Linked DNA regions of Homo sapiens: regions 2, 3, 4, 5 and 6 are each linked to region 1. The links are contacts of gene promoters, found by promoter capture Hi-C in blood cells and fetal thymus (Javierre and others, 2016). All regions are on one chromosome and are shown on one strand. Each heading gives the region's core, a stretch centred on a gene start or on the middle of the fragment in contact. The rest is flanking DNA. Distances are from core to core; before and after follow the strand shown. Region 1 holds the start of LRRC8D (leucine rich repeat containing 8 VRAC subunit D). Region 2 overlaps KYAT3 (kynurenine aminotransferase 3). Region 3 overlaps KYAT3 (kynurenine aminotransferase 3). Region 4 overlaps KYAT3 (kynurenine aminotransferase 3). Region 5 overlaps GBP7 (guanylate binding protein 7). Region 6 holds the start of GTF2B (general transcription factor IIB).

The links. Contacts are between HindIII fragments. The CHiCAGO score rates a contact against its expected background, and 5 or more counts as called.
Region 2: a fragment that was not itself captured here is called in contact with the fragment with the promoter of LRRC8D in region 1 in 4 of 17 cell types (neutrophils, fetal thymus, total B cells and 1 more); the score reaches 10.5 in neutrophils.
Region 3: a fragment that was not itself captured here is called in contact with the fragment with the promoter of LRRC8D in region 1 in 6 of 17 cell types (activated CD4 T cells, naive CD8 T cells, total CD8 T cells and 3 more); the score reaches 9.5 in activated CD4 T cells.
Region 4: a fragment that was not itself captured here is called in contact with the fragment with the promoter of LRRC8D in region 1 in 2 of 17 cell types (activated CD4 T cells and naive CD8 T cells); the score reaches 7.1 in activated CD4 T cells.
Region 5: a contact is called between a fragment that was not itself captured here and the fragment with the promoter of LRRC8D in region 1, in 1 of 17 cell types (neutrophils). The highest score is 5.1, in neutrophils.
Region 6: a contact is called between the fragment with the promoter of GTF2B here and the fragment with the promoter of LRRC8D in region 1, in 4 of 17 cell types (activated CD4 T cells, naive CD8 T cells, neutrophils and 1 more). The highest score is 8.0, in activated CD4 T cells.

The regions. Positions count from the first base shown.
Region 1 is chr1:89,819,632-89,822,669 of GRCh38, reverse strand. LRRC8D (leucine rich repeat containing 8 VRAC subunit D) reads right to left here and starts at 1,638. Exons shown (of 3, transcript NM_001134479.2): 1 at 1,379-1,638. LRRC8D-DT (LRRC8D divergent transcript) reads left to right here and starts at 876. Exons shown (of 1, transcript NR_185885.1): 1 at 876-2,496. RefSeq lists silencers at 669-888, 760-969, 1,060-1,159, 1,260-1,609, 2,050-2,109. The HindIII fragment of the contact is 10,555 bases long and covers 1-3,038 here.
Region 2 is chr1:88,985,418-88,988,733 of GRCh38, reverse strand. It overlaps KYAT3 (kynurenine aminotransferase 3), which reads left to right. Exons shown (of 14, transcript NM_001008661.3): 2 at 383-482. The coding sequence starts at 384. RBMXL1 (RBMX like 1) reads left to right here. Exons shown (of 3, transcript NM_001162536.3): 2 at 383-482. Among named protein-coding and RNA genes, the nearest start is that of KYAT3, 5.6 kb to the left of the region's middle. The HindIII fragment of the contact is 3,376 bases long and covers 295-3,316 here.
Region 3 is chr1:88,962,631-88,965,817 of GRCh38, reverse strand. It overlaps KYAT3 (kynurenine aminotransferase 3), which reads left to right. Exons shown (of 14, transcript NM_001008661.3): 5 at 840-989. Among named protein-coding and RNA genes, the nearest start is that of KYAT3, 28 kb to the left of the region's middle. The HindIII fragment of the contact is 2,075 bases long and covers 887-2,961 here.
Region 4 is chr1:88,945,840-88,949,271 of GRCh38, reverse strand. KYAT3 (kynurenine aminotransferase 3) reads left to right here. Exons shown (of 14, transcript NM_001008661.3): 11 at 1-181. Among named protein-coding and RNA genes, the nearest start is that of KYAT3, 45 kb to the left of the region's middle. The HindIII fragment of the contact is 3,334 bases long and covers 13-3,346 here.
Region 5 is chr1:89,136,316-89,139,612 of GRCh38, reverse strand. The region is part of intron 9 of GBP7 (guanylate binding protein 7); the gene reads left to right. The region is part of intron 1 of LOC105378842 (a long non-coding RNA gene); the gene reads right to left. Among named protein-coding and RNA genes, the nearest start is that of GBP2, 12 kb to the right of the region's middle. The HindIII fragment of the contact is 8,826 bases long and covers 1-3,297 here.
Region 6 is chr1:88,889,936-88,893,263 of GRCh38, reverse strand. GTF2B (general transcription factor IIB) reads left to right here and starts at 1,697. Exons shown (of 7, transcript NM_001514.6): 1 at 1,697-1,781. The coding sequence starts at 1,765. RefSeq lists an enhancer at 1,412-1,521. The HindIII fragment of the contact is 16,776 bases long and covers 1-3,328 here.

The sequences.
Region 1 (3,038 bases), core at 389-2,888:
GGGCCCCTTATTTGTTTATAAGGTAGACAGCCCTCATCATTACTGCAAACGGGGATTCCCTGCCTGTCCAGACTCTTCCAAAGTCCGGTACAAACCACGTAATAGGTGCTCAATAAACGCTGCCTGTACGGAATTTTACTATCAAAGCTGCCAAGGAAAGTTTCCAGAAATCAGCTCTTCCAAAATATGTCCTCAGAGTTTTCTTTGTCCAACAAAAAAATATTTTTGAAGATCCAAGAGCAGGAAATCTGCGAGGCAACGAGGAGCCAAATATAAGCCAAGCGGCTCCAGCTGGGCCCCACATTCCGCTAGGACTCCCCAGTACCTATTCCCCATCTCTCCGCCTACATCCTGAGTGCGCCCTCCCTCTCATCTCGGCTGTTTCCTTCCCACAACCCTACCTCCATACTTTCGGCCACACACACCCCAAGTGCGTGCTCCTGGAACCTCACAGCCCACCTCTCCCTCTCCAGCAAGGACCTACCTCTCTTCCCCTCGACCTGCAGCAGTTCTTCTTCACTGCAGCTGGCTTTTTAAGAAATCAAAAAATCTCATTTATCTGCAAGGGATACCCCCTAGTAAAGGGTGACGGAAAGGAGAAGGCCCCTATCAACCCTCCAGTAACTGGAGGTGCTGGTCCTCCCGGCAACCACCCCCAATTCTCCTCCTTTTCAAGCCCCTGGACAGGATTTGAGCAGAAGTCCCGCTCCCAAGAGCCCACGCCTCCAAACAAGCTAGAAGCGGATTATACCGGTACCCAACCCGGAGACGGCCCGCGGACGGCTGGGTGCACCTGCGGGCCCCCAGCTCCCTCCCACAGGCGCGGGGGGCGGGGCGCGGGCCTTCACCTCCCCGCCCCCGCCCGCCGGGCTCCCAGCGCAGCCCACCCTGCACAGGAAGGAAGCGGAGGGGAGGCGATTCTGGAGAAGTTAAAGGGCTCACCTTTGGACGCCGGGCCAGCAAGGCCAGACACCAAACACCCACCTCCGGGAGGAACCAGCAGAGCCGAAACCGGCTCTCCCCGCCTTTCCGATAGGGCGGAGGGAGGTGAGAGAAGGGAGCGCGCGCGAGGGGTTCAGGAGCCAGGAAGCCGCACTCCCCTCCCGCAGGGCCGGCCGCCCGGGGCCGAAGCGGCCGACGCTCAGACTGCAGAAAGCGGAACAATCTCCCAGGCCCTGGCGGCAGCAAACGGGAGCCCACTCCGCTCGCCGCCACCTCCTCCCGACCCCCGGACGTCCCCGAATGAGTTCCCGGCCGCAACCGCAGCTCGGGCCGCGGCGCCTGCGCCAGGGTTGCGCGCTCCGGCTCGGCGCGGCTCCACCTGCGCGTCGCCTTCCCTCGCAGCCCCCGGCCCCTGCCGGGAGAGGTGCGCACCAACCTTGGGGTGCAGCTCGGCCGCCAAGCCACGGCTTATGCTGAGGCCGGAGGTGGCGGCATCACCCGCGGCGGGCGGCGGCTGCACCGGGACGCGCCGGGGCGGCGAAGGCGCGCTGCACCCTGGACCCTGCTCCCGCGGCCCCGCCCGCGGCTGCCACCTCGAAGCGCGGCGGAGGAGCCGGGGCACCACGGGCGGCGGCAGCGGCAGCGGCAGCAGCGGCGACGGGAGCAGCAGCACATGACTCTGTAACGAGGGGAATTAGACAAAGCGTAACATGGACTCCGGGCCCGTGCAGGCGCTGCAGCTCTGGGACCAACCGCAGCCGGCGAGTGCCGCGACTGGCCCGGCCGCAGCCAATGGGGCGGGCCCGGGCCTCCATGTGATTGCGAGCGCTTTCTCCGGTGGCCCTGCAGCGCCTGACCGGACGGGGTCTGTGTGGCGAGGGAGGGGACCCGGGGTTGGAGACTGGCGGCGAGCGACTGCTAGATGCGGAGCAGGTGCTTGGGAGGGGAAGAACGGCAGCCTACATAACCATCGCCGTAATGCTCTCGCAAGCGTCCACCTGGGCAGGGCTCGGTGCCGGGCAGGCGCAGCTGCCAGTTAGCTGCGAGGCATGGTCAGGAGCCTTCACCCGTCCTGGGCGAAGGAGGCTGTCCCGTCGACTAAAACTCTGATATTAAGACTTGGCGCTGGGGGTGGGGAGTTGAATTACGTTAAAAAGTCACTTAAGTGCCTTCCAACTCTAAGGAGAAGTACTTATCTGAGCTTTGGGGCACACACAACTACTACTTGGCATGGAGAGTTTCTCAGCTTCATGTGTTCCGTCTGTTATTGAAGCTGTATTGGAAAGTCGGTTCTTGTTTTTATCTGAGCCCGCCGTTTTCATCCCATTCTTTTCGTCAAAAATATGTTACATCTGAAAGAGGCAGATGAAAAGATTATTCTATGCTAAGAGGGTTTTGCAGCCCGATAATGTCACCGTTTTTTGTTGTTGTTGTTGTAGGATCGGGGTTCATTTGCAGTCTTTTTTGTGGGTGAGCAGAGGCAGGGGCCAATAAATAAATTAAGGCGGGATATTTGGAGTTATTTGGTTGTAATAAAATATGTGGTTCAACCCAGTGCTTTCATATCTTCTTTTATCTGAATCCATGTGTTTCTGTAAACCATCGGAAGTCTAATCTGTCTTCTACCAATATCTCTCCATGTCAGCAAATGTTCAATCAACGTTTACCCAGCATCTAAATATTCTTAATAAGCATGCTGCACAAATGTTACAGGTACTCAGGAAGGTGTCGGTTCAGAGACAGTGAGACATTAAAGAGAATGATTGTCCAGGGTTTCAGAAAAGGATTCAGAGAGGAGCTGATAGAATTGACCCTTGGATGGTGAGCACTTGGCCCTCAGGCATTGGACGTGAAGAAGAGCAGCCCAAACAGGAACATGAACAGAGAGGTCCAGAATACACTCAAGGGACTGCCCGAGACCCGTTACAAGATGCCACCAGATTCTGAGCCCTCGGCCCTTTTGCTCTCACTTTCCTTCCCCGACCCTCCTTGCCAGCAGCCACTCCTGTTCCACACACTGCCAAGAAGGAGGTGTATGGGCAGGGAGTGTGTGTAAGTGATCTAATCAGTGTCAGATTTGCTGATCTAAGAGATGA
Region 2 (3,316 bases), core at 733-3,232, 830 kb after region 1:
GAGGATTCTGAAATTTGAGTAGTTCCTAGATTGAAATACTCTGGATTTTATAGCTGCTAGAAATGGAACTTTCACTTTCTGAAATTTAATGCTCTTGACTAAATTAAAGCCTTATTTTTTTAATTAAGAATATTCTTAAAGCTCTCTAGTTTAAAATGATGTGAATATAAATTTGTGTAGGAAGAATACATTTATTAGAATGCCTCCAGTGATGAGAGATTATATCATAGAAAGAAAACTTGAAAGAAAGCAAACTCACTTATCAAAAATGTTTACTTGGATTTTACGTAAGCTTATGATACATCAGCTAGCTGTAAGTGTCTGATAGTGATGTACCCATCATATATTTATTCCTCTTCTCAATTTTTCTTTTATTTAATAGCATGTTTTTGGCCCAGAGGAGCCTCTGCTCTCTTAGCGGTAGAGCAAAATTCCTGAAGACAATTTCTTCTTCCAAAATCCTCGGATTCTCTACTTCTGCTGTAGGTATTGCTTACTTACAGATAAATTATTGTACATATTCTGCACTGTCCAAAAAATATGTAATTTTTCAGATGCTTTTTTACAAATACTTTATTGAAATGAACATTTCTATTACATATGCTGAAGGTGTCTCTTGTCATTGACTAGAATTGACATTCACTGAGCAACTGCTTGCCTGTCTGTGGATCAGGCCATGTGCTGGTCATTATATATTCATTACCTCATTTTGTCTTCACAAAACCCTTCAAGTTATGAATATAGGTCCAGTGGCATGGGAAAAAAGTAGAAGAGGATATTTCAGGAGGACTGCTCAGGGATCGAAAAAGGTTTAAAACCCATAACCACCAAATACAATACGTACATCTGCTTTAGGAACTTGATTCAGTCAACCAAAATGCAGAAAGACATTTTTTAAAGACAATCAGAGAGATACGAATGTGGACTGGGTATTAGATGTTAACAAGAAATTATTGTTGGTGAGGTGTGGTAATGAAATTGCAGTTATATAAGTAGCAATATTTTTTAGATAATATGCCAAGTATGTAGGGATGTAATGACCTAAGGTCTAAGATTTATTCTAAAGTTACTCAGCAATTACAGAAAAAAAGAGGCAAAATCTTGAGAATTACTGAATCTGGGTAGTGTGCATATGAGTGTTTTATATTAGGTTAAAGTATATGAAATTGCTATTTTTGTATGAAAATTCCATTTTTGGCATATGAAGTACCATTTTTGTCATAACTGGTTGAATATTGACAATTTTGTATTCAACCTAATTCTAATCTCTCAACTGGTTTAAAATTTTCTCAGTGGTTTAAAATTTTCATAAAAACCATCATCAGTGTCTTCTATATGTAAATCTTATGAATTCTACCTCATAACTGTCTTGAATTCTCTCCTCTTTATGCCACCGTGACCACCTTTTTCAGGCCCTCTCCCAACATAGAAGTCGGTTGAAGCCAGGGAAGTGGTTGTGCTTCCCCAAGGTGAACATATGAAACCATGGCACTAAAAGGGCATTTGTGTGCACAATCCTCATTTGTGGAACTTTTATTAGACTACGTATGCCAGGGCTCACCATTATGCATTCTAATTCTACATATCTGGAATGTATTTTGAAAAATCTTTCCAGCTGATTCTGATGTATGTCCCAGGCAAAAACCACTGACAATGCATTATTCAAACTTGTGGACTATTTGGGATAGCACTAACCCCTCTCCATACCTAGCAGTGGAATGGTTGGGTTGTGTGGTAGCTTTATGTTTAATTAAGTAACTGCCAAAGTGTTTGTATCATTTTAACTACATTGGAAAAGTGTCTACAGTTCATCAGAGGCTTTGCATTTAAAATAGTCGCACAGGGATAAAGATAAATATTCTTCCTATTGCTGGACGAATGAAAAACACTGGCCAGTGTTACAAAAGCAATAGTGATAAGTTTAAATCAAGAAAGACTTGTCAGAACCAGCCAGATAAGTTACTGTGAACTTACTTAGAATATTCGTTTCATCCACATCATCCTTAATGTCATGAAAATCTGCCGGGAAGGGAATAGAATGAAGGATAGGCTGTATTTTCCTGTATTACTTGCTTTTTTACAAAAACATTTTACATATTCTCTAATTTTAAAGAATGTTTTGAATGCTAAAGGAAAAATGTAGGCGGGGCGCAGTGGCTAACACCTGCAATCCCAGCACTTTGGGAGGCTGAGGCCAGTGGATCGCTTGAGACCAGGAGTTCAAGACCAGCCTGGGCAACATGGCAAAACCTCATCTCTATTAAACATACAAAACATTAGCTGGGCACACACCTGTAGTCCAGGATGGTCTCAATCTCCTGACCTTGTGATCCACCTGCCTCGGCCTCCCAAAGTGCTGGGATTACAGGCGTGAGCCACCGCGCCTGGCCCTAAAATAGTCTATTAATTTTTTTTTTTTTAAGAGAGTCTAAAATTTAAATGTCCACCAGAGAAGCGCAAAAGCAACACTGGACAAAACCTTTTCCTTAGGTCTGTCCTTCCTTAAGGAAATCAACTCTCTCTGTCTCTCTCTCTCTCTCTTTTTTTTTTTTCATACAGTCTCTCACTCTTGCCGCCCAGGCTGGAGTGCAATGGCGCAATCTCGGCTCACTGCAGCCTCCGCCTCTCGGGTTCAAGCAATTCTCCTGCCTCAGCCTCCTGAGTAGCTGGGACTATAGGTGCCCGCCACCACTCCCGGCCAATATTTGTATTTTTTGTAGAGACGGGGTTTTGCCATGTTGGCCAGGCTGGTCTCAAACTACTGGGCTCAAGTGATCCACCCTCCTCAGCCTCCCAAAGTGCTGAGATTACAGGCATGAGTCACTGCGTCCAGCCCAACCCTCTCTTTTGATGTGAAAGTATCACCTTTTGTACATTTAGTCCATACCCAATATCTCTTTGCCTCCTTTAGTGCAAAGTTACTCATCCTTACTTGTATCTAAGAGAATCTTTCCTACTTTCTGAGTGGGCACTAGTTTTGGAGTATATATATTGTATGCCATGAACTATATTTTTCTGCTTATGGCTTTGCCTCATTTAATTGCCATAGCACTTACATGGGGCAGGTATTCATTTTCCTGCTTAGCAAATAAGGAAACTGAATTTCAGAGATGTCAGGTAACCTGCCTACTTCACACACTAGGAGTTTTGATGTTTAATTTTGAACTAAGATCTATCTGGCTTGAAAGCTCTTTGCATTAAACAACCTTGAACAATATACTTGGAACGTAGGTGTGTTTTTGGCACAGAACATGGCATGTGTGTGAGGGATTGAACACAGACTTGCCCAGATTCAAACTTACCAATCTTCTGTTTC
Region 3 (3,187 bases), core at 675-3,174, 860 kb after region 1:
GACCTGCACTTGCACTCTTACTCTCAAGGGATAGAAAATCAGGATGGTACTTCAAAAGCAAAATGAGGAGGTAGATGCTGGACAGAAAACAACAGGAAATATTGACCTAAATACCAAATAAAACAAGGAGGGGGAAAGGAAAAGGAAGAAAAAAAAGGAAGGAAGGGGAGAGAGCCTAGAAGAGAACTTAGGGAGAGCTAATCCAGGAGTCTTCAGACCCCCTGCTTGCCTCAGGCTGTACCTTCATAATCCCTTCACTTCTCCTATGAAAGTAGTTACCTTGGATAACCACTGCTCTCTTGACTGTCAGTGTGAGTAGTGTCTCACTTCCTTCTAACATTTGCTATCACATCAACACTAGTGTTCGTGTCGTTGGTGAATTTGTTTTTGTTCTCTTTCCCTAGTCCATTGGTTGGCATAACCATCTCTCCAGCAATCAGGAAGAGCCAAGGAGTGGGTATACAGTTAAAGTGGGTTTTTTTCACTTATTTTAACTGGGAAACAAATCCAACTCTTTTCAATATGATTTAATTACTGTCAAAAAATACAAATGGTTGATTTTTATTCAAAGCAAATACTTTGAAATTATATAATCCCAAACCCTTTATTTAGTAAGAAGTTTTAATCATTAGCAAGCCTTCATGACAAATAGTGTGGGAATACTCTAAATGTAGGAAATTTTAAAAAATTTATTGCCATTAAAAAATATAAATTTTCTTGGGGTAATTATAAACATCAAATCCAAATTTTAAAAATTCTTACATTTTAGAGCCATATTACCTCAAACAGTAGGTCCCATATTTAAATTCAAGGTTTTGTTCTTATTTTTAATCCAACAGGGCCATCCATCACTTGTGAAAGCTCTGTCCTATCTGTATGAAAAGCTTTATCAAAAGCAAATTGATTCAAATAAAGAAATCCTTGTGACAGTAGGAGCATATGGATCTCTTTTTAACACCATTCAAGCATTAATTGATGAGGGAGATGAAGTAAGTATATTAACATTATCGTAATACCCATATTAATCAATTATCATTTGTCCCACCTTTGAATCTTTCGCTTATATTCTACTCTTTTCTCTTTTTATTTTTAATTATGTTTTAAGTATAATGCATGTACAGTAAAGTTCACAAATCTTAAATGTACAGCTGGATAAATTACTGTGTAAATTTCTGTGCAACTACAACCAGACAAAGATATGATACATTTCCAGTACCCAGAAAACTTCTTTGTTCCTCTTCAGAGTCTATATTCTCCCAGAGGTAAGTACTCTTCTGTCTTCTATTACCATAGGCTTGTTTTCACTGCTCTTTTACTTAATATGAATATAATTATACAGTGTATACTCTTGGGTCTAGATCCATTCATTTATTTTTGTGTCTGTGAGATTCATCCATTTTGTTGCATATAATTTATTCTTATTTTTATAGCCTATTTAAATAAGGGCAGATGGAAGGGACTAACACTGCCAGGGAAAAAGAATCTTTTGTTTTCATTGCTAAAATAACCTTTACTCTTAACTTGGTCTACAAGTTTTTGATCAATGTCTTTGTGTGCCCAGTAATTGTATAAGCCATCCCATGTGAGGATGTTTTTGTGATTGTTTTTGTTTTTTTGAGATGGAGTCCCACTTTGTTGCCCAGGCTGGAGTGCAGTGGCACGATCTTGGTCACTGCAACCTCCACCTCACGGGTTCAAGTGATTCTCGTGCCTCAGCCTACTGAGTAGCTGAGATTACAGGCGCCCGCCACGAAGCCCAGCTAATTTTTGTATTTTTAGTAGAGATGGGATTTTGCCATGTTGGCCAGTCTGGTCTCGAACTCCTGACCTCAGGTGATCCGCCTGCCTCAGCCTCCCAAAGTGCTGGGATTACAGGCGTGAGCCACCACGCCCAGCTGAGAATGTATTAATATAATAGGAAGGTAAAATGATTTCTGCGATTTAGTACTGTGAGGTATGACCAACTTTTGCAACTACCTCAGTCATCTCTACCCGTATTTCCCATTAGCATTCCAATAGCCTTACTTTAATACTTTTTGCCTCTTTCATTTATTCAGAAAATACTGAGGATCCAATATATGCTAAGCACTGTGAGATAGAAGATGTTTTAAAGATAGATTCTATGCAGAAGGTGTTCCCTGTCTAGTAGAGAACACAGACTTGCAAATGGATTACGAGGAACACTATGGTAGTGACAAAAGGAAGAGGCAATCACCTCTGCTAAGTCTGGAAAGCTCCAGAGAGACATTGCTTAAGCTGGGACTGCAGAACGAATATTTATCCTGATCTATATTGTTAACTTTCTTTAAACTCTCATAACCCTTTATCATACCACTTTTATGAAAGATGCCACTATCTGCTTTGTGTTATGTTATTCTTTTACAACTTTGATTCCCTTCACTATGCCAGACAAGATGTTTAAGGAAACATGTTAATGAAGTTCACAGTTTCATATACATAAACTCCTTTAATCCTATACATAGTTTTGTCTCATACTTCGATGTTGTTAATCCTTTGTTGCTTCTTTCTCTGCACTCTGTTGGGAGTATTATAAGGCTTAGCCCTTAGCTTTCTTTCCTCTATTCTTTCTTCCTTCATCAACTTATCTAGTATTTTGAAACCACATACATGTCACTTGCTATCATACTGACCTATTTATTGTTTCTTTATAGCATTTATTACTATCTGAAATTATCTAATGTCCTTATTTGTCTCTCCGTTCATTATAAGCCTCTCTCAGTAGGATATAAGTTCTAGGAGAACTTTATAGCTTTACTGCCAGCACCTAAAATAGTGAGGACGCAATAAATATTCTCAAAAAAAAAAAAAGAGAGAGAGGAATTGTTCACATCATAAAAGTGAAAAAATCAAGGCGAAGAGTAACAGGTATATTTCTCCCACTCTACTGCCCTGCCTCTCCAATTTATTTTCCTTTATTGTGCTCTCACCTTGTATTAAGCTTTATATTTCCCACTAGAGTTACAAAGATAGATTGTCTTAGTCCCTGAGAACTTCACAGATGAGGCTGAGTGTGGTGGCTCAGGCCTGTAATCCCAGCACTTTGGGAGGCTGAGGCAGATCACCTGAGGTTAGGAGTTTGAGACCAGCCTGGGCAACACGGCGAAACCCCATCTCTACTAAAAATACAAAAATTAACCGTGCTTTTGAGAAGAGAGAAACATCTTTA
Region 4 (3,432 bases), core at 430-2,929, 870 kb after region 1:
TTGGCTCAAGCTTTCTGGATTGACATCAAGCGCATGGATGACCCAGAATGTTACTTTAATTCTTTGCCAAAAGAGTTAGAAGTAAAAAGAGATCGGATGGTACGTTTACTTGAAAGTGTTGGCCTAAAACCCATAGTTCCTGATGGAGGATACTTCATCATCGCTGATGTGTCTTTGCTAGGTTTGTAAAGGCTTTTATTATTTCAACTATACGGAAACTTATGTGTGAAATTATATCAGAATTATGGAGAAAAGATTGGTGTCAAAGCCACAGCAGCATTTTATCTGTGGAGAAGGATGGATTTTTGCAATGTCTACATTTTCTATAATTATCTTTACTTTTAGGCCTTTTACCTTAAATGTGACCATTGTTAAATGGTTATGGAGTCAGTGTTGTTCTAGTTAGTCTATTAAACATAGGATTTGCTATCACTCTCTTCTGGTGTGTAATTTTAAAACACAAGTGTGTGAAATAATATTATATACTCAGTGTTCATTTGAGTAAAATTGTAGTTTCCTTTTTACTTAACAAAATGTACTATTTCATTAGAAAAATATCTAGAAATTTTGAAGCTATCAGGGAATATTTGCCATTTTAGAATGTACTGAAATAAAATAAATGGGAGAATAACACTTATTGAGGGTCTACTTTGTGCCACGTACTCAAAACACCCTTTTGAAGAAAACATTAGCTCCATTTTTGCAGGTAAAAAGATTTAGAAAGTTTTAAATAGCTTCCCTGAAGTCACACAGCTAGATTCTAAATAGTTCTGTTTCCAAAAAGCATTGTTTTTTATATTACCTAAAGCTGTTATATGTAATTCTGACATGCCATACAAATCTAAAGTTAGAAGCATGATAATGTGTCATATATAACTTTTCTTTTAAAAAAATTAGTAATAGTAAACCTTGAAGCCTAATTTATCATGACAGAAATTACAGCCATTCTAAATATAGTTTTAAATGTTTTAAAATTTTATTACAATGAAGTTATATGCCAATGAACTTGAAAAACTGAAGTGTTTTATTTATACTAAATTGTATAAAGCTGGAAAGAGTAAAGGAAATTTTCAATTTTATAGCAAAACATTGATCATATTTTTTAACTTTACATCCTTCACATAGGAGTTTGTTTTGTTTTGTTTTGTTTTGTTTTGTTTTGTTTTGTTTTGTTTTGTTTGAGGCAGGGTCTGGCCCTGTCACCCAGGCTGGAGTGCAGTGGCGTGATCTCAGCTCACTGCAACCTCTGCCTCCTGGGCTCAAGCCATCCTGCCACCTGAGTCTCCTGAGTAGCTGGGACCACAGGCATGCACCACCACACCTAGCTAATTTTTAAATTTTTTTTAGAGACGAGGTTTTGCCACATTTCCCAGGCTGGTCATGAATTCCTGAGCTTAATGAGTGATCCACCTGCCTCAGCCTCCCAAAGTGCTGGGATTACAGGCATGAGCCACTGGCTGAGTTCTTTCTTACTATAAGCATTTGATGCTAGCAATTTTTACTTGTAATAGTTCATTATCATCTTAGCAAATTTCAGAAAAGTAAGGTGTTATGATTTTCCTATAATTTGGTCTTCAGGTCTGTCTCTCTGGAAAGTGGCTGTAAACTCTAGCTGTTCCCTGATGGGGCTCCAGGGGAGGTCCTGGATGTTTGCAGTGTGCCTTTCATGGGCTACTTGTTTATCCTGGCAGATGGCCTGATGTTAAGTGTCTGACCCATGACCAGACATCCCTGGAAACTGGTTTATACTGGCAGACATCCTTGTGGCTCTCATCTGACCTGTATCCAGTTTATTTCCACAGAGATAGCCACTCTCTAGGAGGAGGAGAGTTAGGTTCCGGTGTGTTGGTCAGTTGGGACACAGAAGAGGCAGCAGGCCTCCCGGGACCAATGGGAAGTGAGGAGTGGTCCAGGATATACACACTCAACCAGCAGGTGGGGAACAGAGAGAGAGTGGGATCTGTGGGCCAAAGCCTTTTTGGGGGCCCAAGGTGTTACCCAAGCAGGTTTCCTGCAGAGACTTCTAACAGATGGGTTTAGAGCGAGCAGGCACAAGCTCATGGTGTCAGGCTGTGACTGAGAGGTGGTCACTGTGGCATATCTAGGCAGTCCATGAGGAGGGTGGGGGTCAGTGGGCGAGTCAAGTAGGTTGTATCTAGCTGTACCACAGTGAGGTGCTCGCCAGGAGGTGGTTGTCTCAGGCAGATATCTGAATCAACTACATTGAGGAACTGTGAGGAGGAAGAGAAGTGGAAATTGTGTCAAGGGTGACTAAGCCCTGCTTCTGGTATAAGAAAGACCAACTTATATTCACAATGGATGCCAAGACAACATACAGTCATAAGAATTCATTACATGAGGTTTGGCTCAAACTGAAACACTCTCCTTCCTTTCACATTAGCTTATTTCTTCATTTGTTGTGAGAGAAGAGGCTTTGACAAGCAAAGATTCCTGCAGTGCTATTGCCATAGAGCTGTATTTAGCAGGCTCCCAAGCTCTATGCTTATATAGAACCTCTTAAGGTGTTCTAGACTCTGAGATTTGGGAAGTGCTTTTTCTATATTGAGTCTAAATGTGCAGTTCATTTTATGAAATGATAAAAAAAATTAGCACAGTTGTCATCACTTATATTTTTGCCTTTGAATCATAAATCCCCAAGATTTCCATATGAATTATTATTTTTTTAAAAGAACAACATTTGTACTTTATATGCTTCCAAAAGGAATGTGAGCCTTCTCATATTAAAAGTTTTCTATGCAGTAATATATAAATAGAAATGATTGTATCTAAATCAAAAATCAATGATACATGGCCAGTACAGTGACTCCTGCCTGTAATCCCAGCACTTTGGGAGGCCAAGGCGGGAGGATTGCTTGAGCCCGGGAGTTCAAGACCAGCCTGGGCAACATAGTGAGATCCTGTCTCTTAAATTAAAAAAAAAAAAAATCAGTTACACATAGGAGGGAAAGAAAGCAAATATTTCAGTCACCTAGGTTCACATAGTATTGTAATTAGCATTAACTTGAGACTAAACTTCCTGACAGTAAAGGCAAACAGAAAAATGAAATTAGTTGCGTAGTTTTTGAATAAAAAGAAACTTAGCTTTTTAGATAAGAACAATTCTTTCCTGGAACCAAACTTTTCCAGATATGAAACTCGATTTATCACATTGTGACATTAACTATCAAAAGAACAGTGATAAAACTCAGAATATTACATTAAGCTCCTAATTAGTTTCCATTTCTTTCCTCAGTCAATCCATTCTATATGCAATACTAATTTAGGTCTTAGATCTTGAACTAGTGTGGTGATAATAGGAGCAAAAAGGATTTTGGTTAGGAAAGCTTTTCTGATAATGAAAACAAGATTTTTTTTATGGTCTTCCTTCACTCGTGGAAAAATGTTAATGTCCACAAAACCTTCCTACATATA
Region 5 (3,297 bases), core at 711-3,210, 680 kb after region 1:
GGGTTGTTTTTTTCTTGTGAATTTGTTTGAGTTCATTGTAGATTCTGGATATTAGCCCTTTGTCAGATGAGTAGGTTGCAAAAATTTTCTCCCATTTTGTAGGTTGCCTGTTCACTCTGATGGTAGTTTCTTTTGCTGTGCAGAAGCTCTTTAGTTTAATTAAATCCCATTTGTCAATTTTGGCTTTTGTTGCCATTGCTTTTGGTGTTTTAGACATGAAGTCCTTGCCCATGCCTATGTCCTGAATGATATTGCCTAGGTTTTCTTCTAGGGTTTTTATGGTTTTAGGTCTAACATCTAAGTCTTTAATCCATCTTGAATTCATTTTTGTATAAGGTGTAAGGAAGGGATCCAGTTTCAGCTTTCTACATATGGCCAGCCAGTTTTCCCAGCACCATTTATGAAATAGGGAATCCTTTCCCCATTGCTTGTTTTTGTCAGGTTTGTCAAAGATCAGATGGTTGTAGATATGTGGCATTATTTCTGAGGGCTCTGTTCTGTTCCATTGATCTATATCTCTGTTTTGGTGTTGAGCATTTTTTCATATGCTTGCTGGCCATGTGTATGTCTTCTTGGATAAATGTCTGTTAATGTCCATTGCCCATTTTTTAATGGGGTTGTTTGCTTTGTTCTTAATTTCTTTAACTTCCTTATAGATTCTGGATATTAGACTTTTTTCAGATGCATAGTTTGCAGATATTTTCTCCCATTCTGTAGGTTGTCTGTTTACTCTGTTTATAGTTTCCTTTGTTGTGCATGAACTCTTTAGTTGAATTAGGTCCCTCTTGTTAACTTTTTGTTCGGTTGCAGTGGCTTTTGAAGTTTTCATCAGGAAATCTTTGCCAGTGCCTATGTCCAGAATGGTATTTCCTAGGTTTTCTTTTGGTGGTTTTATAGTTTTAAATTTTACATTTACATCTTTAACTCATCTTGAGTTGATTTTTGTATATAGTGAGAAGAAGGGGTCCAGTTTCAATCTTCTGCATATAGCTAGCCAGTTAACCCAGCACCATTTATTGAATAATGCATTCTTTCTCCATTGCTTTTTTTGTTAGCTTTACCAAAGATCAGATAGTTGTAGGTGTGTGGTATTATTTCTGCTTTCTTTAAACTTTTCCATTTGTTCATGTGTCTGTTTTGTTTTGTTTTGTTTTTTGACCAGCACCATGCTATTTTGGTTATTGTAGTCTTGTAATATAGTTTAAACTCAAGTCATGTGATGTCTCTGGCTTTGTTCTTTTTGCTTAGGAGTGCCTTGGCTACTCGGGGTTTTTTTGTTGTTGTTGTTCCATGTGGATGTTAGAATAGTTTTTACTAATTCTATTTTTAAAAAGTCATCGATAATTTGATAGGAATAGCATTGAATATGTAAATCAATTTGGGCAGTATGGCTATTTTAACAACATTGATTCTTCCTATCCATATGCATGAAATAATTTTCCATTTGTTTGTGCAGTCTCAGATTTCTTTCAGCAGTGTTTTATAATTCTCATTGTAGAGATGCTTCACCTCCCTGATTGGCTGTAAACCTAGGTATTTTATTCTTGGTTATTCACAATAGCTATTGTGAATAGGATTGTGTTCTCGGTTTGACTTTCAGCTTGGACATTATTGGTGTGTAGAAATGCTACTTATTTTTGTACATTTACTTTTTTATCCTGAAACTTTGCTGATGTTTATCAGATGGATGAGACTTTGGGCAGAAATTATGGAGTTTTCTAACTACAGAATTCTATTGTCTATGAAGAGAGAGAGTTTGACTTCCTCTCTTCCTATTGGATAACTTTTTTTTTCCCCTTTGCCTGATTTCTCTGGCTAGGACTTCCAGTACTATGTTGAATAAGAGTTGTTGAGAGTGGGCATCCTTGTCTGTTTTTGGTTCTCAAGTGAAATGTTTCCAGCTTTTTCACATTCAGTATGATGTTGGCTGTGGGTTTTTCATAGATGGCTTTTATTATTTTGAGGTATGTTCCTTTGAGGCCCAGTTTGTTGAGATATTTTAACATGAAATATTGAATTTTATCAAAAGCCTTTTCTGTGCCCATTGAGAAGATCATCTGGTTTTTGTTCTGAGTCCCGTTTGTGTGAGGAATCAATTTATTATTAGCATATGCTGAATCAACCTTGCATTCCAGGAATAAAGCCTAATTGACAGTGGTGGGTTCGCTTTTTAATGTGCTGCTGGATTTGGTTTGCTAGTATTTTGTTGAAGATTTTTTCATCCATGTTCATCAGGAATATTGTCCTGCATTTTTCTTTTTTTGTTGTGTCTCTGCCAGGTTTTTAAAATCAGAATGATGCTGGCCTCATAGAATGTATTAGGAAAGATTCCCTGCTCCCCATTTTTTTTGGAATAGTTTAGTAGAATTGGTACCAGCTCTTCTTTCTATGTATGGCAGAACTGACTATGACTCTGTCTGGTCTAGGGCTTTTTCTGCTTGGTAGGCTTTTTAATGCTGACCCAATTTTGGAACTTGTTATTAGTCTGTTCCAGGTTTCAATTTCTTCCTGGTTCACTTTTGGTAGGTTGTATGTTTCCAGGAATTTATCCATTTCTTCTAGGTTTCTTAGTTAGTGTGCATAGTGGTGTTCATAATAGTCTCTCAGGATTTTTTGTATTTCTGTGGAGTTGATAGCAATGTCCCTTTTGCCATTTTTTTATTGTGTTTATTTGGATCTTCTCTTTTTTTGTTCTTTTTTAGTCTAACTAGAAGTATATCCATCTTATGTATTTTTCCAGAGAACCATTGGTTTCATTGATCTTTTGTATGGTTTTTCTTGTCTCCACTTTATTCACTTCAAGTCTGATTTTGGTTATTTCTTGTCTCAGCTAGCTTTGTGCTTGGTTCACTTTTGTTTTTCTAGTTCCTCAAGGTGTAATGTTAGATTGTTAATTTGAGATATTTCTAACTTTCTACTGTAGTCGTTTAGTGCTATTAACATTCCTCTTAACACTGCTCTAGTTGTGTCTCAAAGATTCTGGTAGGTTGTATCTTTGTTTTCATTAATTTCAAATAATTTATTTCTGCCTTAAATTCACTGTTTACCCCAAAATCATTCAGAAGCAGATTAATTAATTTTCATGTAATTGTATAGCTTTGAGAGATATTCTTTGTATTGATTTCTATTTTTACAGCATTGTGGTCTGACAGCATTGGTATGATTTGGGTTTTTTTTTTATTTGTTGAGAATTGCTTTATGGCAGAGCAAGGAGTCAATTTTAGAGTATGTGCCATGTGCAGATGAGATGAATGTATATTCTGTTATTGTTGGGTGGAGTGTTCTGTAGATGTCTGT
Region 6 (3,328 bases), core at 448-2,947, 930 kb after region 1:
GGAGAATACTGTCTGAAGGCAGGGAACCTAAGGCAGATTCACACTGATTTCCTAGAACTAAATCAAATGGAAAACCCCGGCCGGGCGCGGTGGCTCACGCCTGTAATCCCAGCACTTTGGGAGGCCAAGGCGGGCGGATGACGAGGTCAGGAGATCAAGACCATCCTGGCTAACAGGGTGAAACCCCGTCTCTACTAAAAATACAAAAACAAAATTAGCCGGGCGTGGTGGCAGGCTCCTGTAGTCCCAGCTACTCGGGAGGCTGAGGCAGGAGAATGGCGTGAACCTGGCAGGCGGAGCTTGCAGTGAGCCCAGATCGCGCCACTGCACTCCAGCCTGGGCGACAGAGCAAGACTCCGTCTCAAAAAAAAAAAAAAAAAAGGAAAACCCCAACTTTCCACACCTAAGTAACAAAAGAACCAGACGTTACTCCCTTTGCAACCCCCTCCCCACTACACAACCACACACACACACACACACACACACACACACACTTTAGCCGTGTGGCAGATGTGAAATTGAAAGTATCTCTGATTCGTTGCTTTCTGCAACCAATCAGACGCTTGCATAGGAGTGTAACTTTGTAACTTCACTTTAGCCTCTGATTGGTTGCTTTCCACAACCAATCAGACTGATTGTGGAGCCACTACTTCATTTACATAGGGTGTACACCATGTAACCAATGGGAAACCTCTAGAGGGTATTTAAACCCCCGAAAATTCTGCAAAAGGAGTCTTGAGCTGGTATTACCTTTTCGTTTTCAATAAATCTCTGCCTTTATTCCTTCATTCTTTCCTTAGTTTGTGCGTTGTGTCCAGTTCTTTGTTCAAAACGCCAAGAACGTGAATACTCTCCACCGGTAACTGTTATTGTTGTTAGTAATAGTGGTATTACAATTTTGACGTTAGTTTGGCTAATTAATAAATCTAGGGATATTTTGCAATATCTAGATGTTCTCGCAAGTTTTCTATATGTAGCTATCAGCCAACGTTACAAAGGCCGTGAAAAAAAAATGATCAGAGCATGGCCCATATCGTCGTGCCTCTTGTGTACACATTGGTTTCACGTAGTTTTGTTTCATCTTCTGCCAATTCTAAAAGGGTATGCAAGGCAAGATACCATAACCTATATAAACTTACATGACCTGTATAAAGGACGTGCCTAAGAAGACAACATGCTAGCTGATGACAGATCCTGAACAGACACCTGTTCTGGATGACCTAAGTGAGTTTCTCCTTTTATTTCAAATTTCTTAGAAAGAATCACCCTTGGGGCACGTAAGAACTGGCTCAAATGGGAGTGCCTGACGCGGGGTGGGGGGCTGGGGGCGGGGTAGGTGGTGGCCGTGAGAAGGTAGCCGTGAGAAGGTGGGAGAGGAAGGGGTGGTTAAACTATTAGGGATGCAGGCTTTGGCACCACTACGAAGCCAGGGTTTTCTTTGTGTTTTAACTGTCAGATTGAGAGTAGCTCTGTTGTAGCCCCTTTGCAGGGTTCCCATGAGACTTTTCCTAGGTAGTTACGTTGACTCGCTTAGCAACATAGCAAATTACAGAAACGGAGTAAGAACGTAAGAAATCGCAAAGCACGTGACGTATGGGATCTCACTGTTCTTGGCCCTTCTCCCGACCCGTAGCCCTGCTCTGCTACGACTGCGTGGGTGAGTCGTCTATAAAAACTCATCTCTGCGCGTCTCTTCGCCACATTCGCTTCCTGCTTTCGGTGTGTCTGTTGTGTCTTGTTGCGGGCACCGCAGTCGCCGTGAAGATGGCGTCTACCAGCCGGTTAGTATGTCCCGCCGAGCCCGGCGAGCTGAGGGGCGGGCGCGAGCGCCGCCGGCTTTTAGGCGGCCTCCGGGCAGCCTCGTAGGGCTGAGCGCCTAGGGGTATGGGAGAGAAGCGGCGGGACTGGCCGACGGGCCGGGACAAAGGCACTTCCAGACGGCAGGACTGTCAGGGTGTCGCAGGGGTTACCGAGCTGTTGACGTTATTGCCCTGGAGTCTTATGTAGATATCACCCTATGTGGGTCCTGGTGGGCTACTGTGTCCCCAGTCCTTGCCCTCGTATCTTTTCCCAATATTTCAATCTCCCTTTATTTTCTCTTCTTCCCACCCTCCCTCCTCTCCTCCCCCGCGCCCCCCCCCCCGCTTGTTTTTTTCATCTACGGCCCAAACAACCCGAGGGTCCGTAATTTCTCCTTTTCAAAGGAACGGGAAACAGTTAGTTTCAGGTTCCTATCGATCTGACAGCTAGGAAGTTGGGAACGTCAGCATTGGTAAGCCAGATGGAACCTGGTTGGTTACCATCACAGCGGGCCTCGGAAGTGGAAGCTAGAGCCATCGGAAGAGTTGATTAGTTCCCTGCTAAAGGATTTGTTTACAAATATCGTTGCCTGTGTACTTCTGAAGAAAATCTTGCCAAAGAAAATTAGTTATATGTGCTGGGAGGTCGCTTTTTAGTATATATTTAAGAATGCAGTGTACTCATATCTACAGGAAATGCATGCAGTACCCTCAGAAACAGCCTTTAATCTTGTGACCTGAAAAATGCTTGCAGACCCTAATTATGTCTCTCATTACCACTGTGAGGTAGATATTAGTATTTTTGCATAAGTGTAAACTGAGTCATGCCAATGTTGACTTTTCCAAGAGTCGTGTTAGAGTGTAGAGTCTAAGACAACCTGTTTCCTGTTATCCACACCTGGCCTTTGGTTAACTAATCCTGTGTTGAAAGTATCAAATTAATTCTACAGCTTCTGGAACTCTGGCACTATTTTTCTGACCCTGCTATCATCTGTGGAATTGGTTAATTTCACAGTGAAAGCCATTTTTACAAAATAGCCTTTTCTGGTAACTGCCAAGACTTACATTTTATGATTAGAAAAGGAATTTGGGGTGGGAGGCAGCTTTAGCTAATATACTGTTTGAACAGAACTCATAAAGCCAGTGACACTCTTGTTTACTGATTCTGATTCTTGGATTGGATGCTCAGTCATTCTATCTGGGTGTTGTTCTGTCGGGTAAGGCCTCCTTGTAGGTAAATGGAAAACTTGGGCTCCCCAGATCACTCAAATACGACTTAAAATTCTACCATGGCTTTTTTTTTTTTTAATTCTATCATGGCTTTTTAAGTCTGAAATTTTTTTCTAGATATGTGCAATTTATGTATCATAGCAGTTATTGCTCAAGTTTTTCTATCAGTGACAACAAAGAAAGTTAAATGCAGTATTTTTTATTTTATGGAACAGGCCTGGGCTGAAGTGTAGGTGGCACGATCATGGCTCACTGCAGCCATGACCTCCCCAGTTCAAGTGATCCTCCCACCTCAGCCT